Regions from separate parts of the Homo sapiens genome. Here region 2 is linked to region 1. Evidence: promoter capture Hi-C in 16 types of primary human blood cells and fetal thymus (Javierre and others, 2016). All regions are on one chromosome and are shown on one strand. Each heading gives the region's core, a stretch centred on a gene start or on the middle of the fragment in contact. The rest is flanking DNA. Distances are from core to core; before and after follow the strand shown.

Region 1 (3,082 bases), core at 56-2,555:
ACCCACTGGAAGGAAATGCTGGGTGCCCAGAGACCATATCCAGCCACATTTTCCTTTACTCAAACATTTGACCAGAGATCACTAGTACTGGTAACACCTGCCAACATTATTTCTCATGAGGGTTATGAAAAACACTGAAAAGGCACAAGGGGCAGTGTACACTATAACCACGTGGGGCTCCTATCTTCCTGTATTTCTTCCTATCCAGAGATGGATGGATTGTGGACTCTATGATTCAGAACTGATGTTTAGAGAATAAAAATAATAATAGTCACAAATGATTAATGGCTGAAATCCTGTTTCAGGATTTAGACACAAGAACTGCTCCACCGAGAGAATCTCCTTGGGGAAAGGGGCATATTTAGAAACATGCCATGTTAGGAGAACCTTAGAAATCATCAGTTTAGCATTTTCCAAAGTTTGCCAAAAACTTTTTAGATCCACATGATGCTTTACCAAAAACAAAGGGATTCAGTGATCAAATAAGTTTGGGAAACAGTGCATATCCCCATCCTGAAGAACCACGGTGCACATCAGCATATCGGAGGCTCTAGGAAGTCCTGCGGTAAGGGATCTGCTTAACTTTGGTCCACTGGTTTCCAAATGTATCTGGCCCTAGAACCTTTCCTTTTTTACACAATGCCTGTTAACCTTCTGAGGAATTGGAGTTCGACGGGACATGTGCTGTGAGGACTGGATCTAATACCAACTCCTCTTTTTCCATATGAGGAAGCTGAGGTCCAAGGCAATGAAGTTATTTGCCTGTGATCACAGAAATCCTGGGCAGTACAGGTGGGAATAAAACCAGAGTTTTTTCTTCTTCCTCACATGGCCTTATCAAAATTAATTGTCCTCCCTTACATCTCTCGGCATCATCAGTAAGGTAACAGCTACTAAGAGATGGGCTACTTAAGGAAAATCATACTTTAAACAGTACCCCACCAACATGGAAGGATTCTTTTACCCGTGGGGTCCCACAACCAACTTATCACAAAGGAAAAATGGGAGAACAGTCACTTAGCCTATGTTTACCCCTAAATGATCAGTGTTTTCAGACCAGCTGGGATATTCTTAGACTCATCTTTCTGTCAACCAAATCACAGACCATCACAAAATGACACCAAGAATACTAGTTATCTAGAATACTAGTTATCTATTACTGCAAAATAAATGATCCTGAAACCTAAAACAATAAACCTTTGTTATGCCTCAGTTTCTGTGGGAATCTTGGAGTGGCTTAGGTGTGTGGTTCTGGTGCAGCCTTTTGTGAGGTCACAGACAGAGTGTCAGCCAGGGATGCAGTCATCTGAAGACTTGACTGGGGCTGGAGAACCTCCTCTCAAGGCAACTCCCACACAAGCCTAGGAAGTTCATTCTGGCTGTTGGCAAGGGGCTTCTGTTCCTTGCCATGTGGACTGCTTGCCATAGGCTGCTTGAGTGGCCTCATCACAGACATGGTGGTTGGCTTTCCCCAGAGTGAGTAATCCGAGAGAGAGAGCAAGGAGGAAGCCTTGGTGCCTTTTATGACCCCAGTCTCAGAAGTCACATACCATCAATTCTGCCATAGTCTATCTTTATTTAGAAGTGAGCCATCATATCCCACTCACACTCAAGGGGAGAAGAGTTAGTTTCTCCCTTTTGAAGGGGGAAGTGTCAAAGAATTTGTGGATGTATTTTAAAACCACCACACCAAGAAAGAGTTGCAAGGGGGAAGGATGCTAATTAAATGACAAATAACAACAACAAACAAACAAGAAAGGCTGGGTGCAGTGGCTCATGCCTGTATCCCAGTGTTTTGAGAGACCTAGGTGGGAGGATTGCTTGAGGCCAGGAGTTTGAGACCAGCCTGGGCAACACAGGGAGACCCCATCTCAAAAAAAAAAAAAAAAAAAAAAAAGCCGGGCATGGTGGCTCGTGCCTGTAGCCCCAGCTATTTGGAGGCTGAGGTGGGAGGATAGCTTGAACCCAGGAGTTTGAGGCTTCAGTGAGCCATGATTGCACCACTGTACTCTAGCCTGTGCGACAGAGCAAGACCCTGTCTAAAAAAACAAAAAACACCCAAGAAACATTTTGAGGGTAAAAATCCATTTAGAACAAGAACAAATACTAAACAGAAACTCTGAAAGAGACCAGGAATTTAAATTTACATGGGACTTGATGCCCAACCTGAATCATTGGCATAAACATCCTTGAACTTCTTTGTAAAACAAACTTCTGAATAAAAGAACTTCTGAGAGAAAACTTCTATTGCTGGCACTGTGACTAGGGGAGTAGATGAAGGATTTGAATCAAGGATAAGCAATTCAGAGGGCATATCCAGTGGTTTGACATGTATCCTTCTAAGTTAACTTTTCCTTTCTCAAGACTTTCAATTTTCTAAATGTTCAATATCCCAACATGACCAAAAGGGTCAAATTCCAGCTCTAGTCTTCACATCTTTTTTTTTTTCCTTCTGAAGGTTTATATTCATTTCCCTATGCTGTCTGAAAGAAGATACCATGATCTAATTGCCTAAGAATTTATTTCCAAATAGTTGTTGACAGAGCCTGGAAGTCTCAGAAAGATCAGATGGATCGTATTCCTTCCTTTACTCAAGAGTTTTTTTTTTTTTTTAATTAAAACAAAAAACAAAAAACCCAGCAACAACTATGATCCCTAAAGAACTTTCCTTTGTGGCACCTGGAGTATTCAGTCAATCAACAAGCTTTTCCTGGACATATGATGGAGATGAGATGTTCTCTAGGACTCATATTGGAAGCTAAACAGAAAACAGATGCAGATACATACAATAATCACAAAAGTGGGATTGAGAAAGAGAGAGAGGAATGGGGCTGAGGCTACATCTAGGCAGCTGTGTGCAATGAGGTGGATTTATTAAGGAAAATGTTCCAGAAAAGATGAACTTAAAGCTATTCTAAATATTTGGGGGAAACTTGAGCAAAAGTTTGGAGAGAAAAGAATGAAGACTGAATTTTTAGGTCATCAAAGAGATGAACAAGGGGTGGGCTGGAATATAGTAGGAGATGAGGCTGGAAGGGGAGGGTGGAGACGGTGATTAAGATGGTTTTGAACAAACTGATCT
Region 2 (2,700 bases), core at 32-2,531, 230 kb after region 1:
GCAGCTAAGTTCCTATGTGATCTTTAGCAAGAACAATGAATAGTAGGAAAGGAGTAGCTTTTAGGAGTCAGATTTGAAGTAAAATCTTGGCTCTACAACTTTCTAGCTGTGTGACTTCAAGCAATTAGCCTACCTGACTTCCAGCTGTCTAATCTGTAATATGAGGATAACAATTCCAGCCTCACCAATTAGTACATAGATTGATAATTTATATAAAGCATATAGATGTCCAATAAAAGGCAGGTACGATTATTCTTCCCTGGGCATCAGTGACTCAGCTATATAATGAAGGTATGGAATAAGTAATCTTTAAGATCCTTTATAAATAACTCTTTTCTGAATTATTTATCTTTACTTGGAGACTCAGCCATGAACGTAACAAATTTAACCAACTTAAGGGCTTGGTAGGGCTGAGGGACTTGGTTTTCCCAGACTTCTCCCAGCAACACAATGCTATGCAACCCCATAAACCACGTCTCAACCCAGTATCTCCTCTAACATATTGAAATGGATGGAGAACAACTTTGTGCATAGAAGGTGAGGAAGTGTGTTATGGAGGACATCTCCAAATTCGCTTCTTAAGGGCTGATTAATGGAGGATTTAAAAGGTGGACAGATTGGTCTGAGTTACGTTACAAACTCCTAGAAGTAGCACAGAGTCAAGAGGATGGCTGAGAATCTTCCCTCCCTCTTTTCCAACATCCCCAGCCCCTGAAACCTGGCCTCATAGAATGACAAAATATTCTGGTTCAACTTTGAATAGAATACACAAAAAAACCAATAAACAGAATAGGTTTGAAATTACGTGGAAGCATTCAGAGTGAAACTAAGCTTGATTAGTACATGTTAAAGAATGTTTAAATTGTTGCAAAAAGGCATACGATGGTAAGAAAAACTACAATGGTATATGAGTTAAGACTGAGCCACTATGATTAAAAAGAAGACAACTTCAGAATGATCTTAGATGGTATTGAGAGGAACACGACATTCCTTTGCCCGTATGCCCTTCCTCTCCAATCATCCAGACCCATCATCTTTCAAGGCCCACTCACAAAATCATCCTGGATCCCCACAGCTGGAGTTAATCTCACCTCCTTCAAACACTTAGAGCACTTTATTTGTATACTTGATCTGCAGCTGTTTATATACTTGTCTTATTTCCTAAAGGACCGTAAGCTCTTTGAGGACAGGGTCTATGACTAATTCATTTTTGTATCCTTTAATATCACACCTCATGGACACTCAGTAAACCTCCAATGAATGAATGGAACATGATTCTCCCACCATGCAAGAAATTTGAGTCTATGCTGCCTCCATATTCTCAGAGATAAGCAAAATAATTGGAACAGATTCAGAAGAGAACAATAAAACAAAATGACTAAAAAGTGGGAGAAACAGAATTTGTATTTGGAAACAAAGGTTAAAGGAATTCAGCCTAAAGTGGCCTTTGGGAAGTGATATCATAGGGACCTTCCAATATATTAAGGAGATAACACTCAAAGAAGGCCTGAAGTTATTTTATTGAACCAAAACAAAACACGACTCAGATTTTAACAGGGCAATGAGGCATGCTGAAGAACTTTCGGAGTATAGATATCGGGATGGTGTGATCAAAGGTAGAGGTAAATGCCATGCTTTCTTCCATCCCTATGTGTATATAAGTATACTCTAACAATGGGGGCTGTGGTACAGCATTTTTGCAAAATTACTTGTGAAACAATTGCAAGCTTTTTAGATTTTCTCCCCCTAAGATGCTAAAACCTGTTTTAAAGGAGAAGGGGATTTAGTCCAGGAAGGAATGGGAGACTCAAGTATGAGACTTGGCTAGCAAGCAAAATGGGACCAACCCAGAGAGAGAGAGAGAAAGAGAGACAGCCTTTGATGTCCTGACGATCAAGGACCATGGCTTAAAGACCAGACTCTTAAATCACGTGTCATTTACTGCCTCAGATAAAAAATACTTTTCTGGATCAGTGTCTGTAGTTCAAAATGGCTAGGTTCCAAAATCAGTCTTAAATTTCCAAGGGTAACATTTGGAAGGTTTCCTGAAAGAACAGAGCGGAGCCAGTTTTAAGAAGGGGCAGCTTAATGATTTCCTACTACCCCCACCCCCAAATCATTAAACAGTGTTCCTTTCCCAGAGCCCAAGTTCATGCTGAGGGCAAAGAGAATTAAATGAAGAAGCTGAACCTGCAGCTAAGATTAGAGAGTTGCCAAGGGCCTAATTTTAGGTCCTAGCTGCTCCAGCTGACGTCCTGCCCTGCTGGCTCAGCCACGAGGACCACAAGTGTGGCCATAAGCCGGTGTCTGAGTGGGAAGAGCGACTCCCTGGCCATCTGCAAAAGCAATTAGCTTGCTGTTGGCTGTGTTTTGAGAGGGACTACCAATAATTTCTCCTTCAACAAGTGTTTCTTCAGGTGTTCACGAGTCAATAAGGGAAAATGTCAGAACTTGGCAGAAGTTCCCACATGCTTGCCATTCTAATATTCACACTTTTCCACTTCAGGTGCTGTCCAAAAGGAAACTAATCCTGGAATTCCTGGTTTTCATGGCAAATAACCCCCTGATAAATGCCCTTTGGCTCTAAGCGTACTGCCACAACCTAGGGAAAGCATTGTTCGGGACTTCTCAGCGTCATGAAAATAGAGATGGACTGGAACAATTCTTTCATTTTGTGTGGAATTTCTATGCCGCTCCTAC

Evidence for each region. The method cuts DNA at HindIII sites, captures the fragments that hold promoters and counts their contacts. A CHiCAGO score of 5 or more calls a contact.
Region 2: a contact is called between a fragment that was not itself captured here and the fragment with the promoter of KIAA2012-AS1 in region 1, in 1 of 17 cell types (endothelial precursors). The highest score is 5.9, in endothelial precursors.

What each region holds. Positions count from the first base shown.
Region 1 is chr2:202,115,281-202,118,362 of GRCh38, reverse strand. It overlaps KIAA2012-AS1 (KIAA2012 antisense RNA 1), which reads left to right and starts at 1,305. Exons shown (of 4, transcript NR_135244.1): 1 at 1,305-1,476; 2 at 2,459-3,082. All of the region lies in intron 11 of KIAA2012, which reads right to left. The HindIII fragment of the contact is 4,910 bases long and covers 1-2,706 here.
Region 2 is chr2:201,883,356-201,886,055 of GRCh38, reverse strand. The region is part of intron 12 of CDK15 (cyclin dependent kinase 15); the gene reads right to left. Among named protein-coding and RNA genes, the nearest start is that of CDK15, 78 kb to the right of the region's middle. The HindIII fragment of the contact is 896 bases long and covers 834-1,729 here.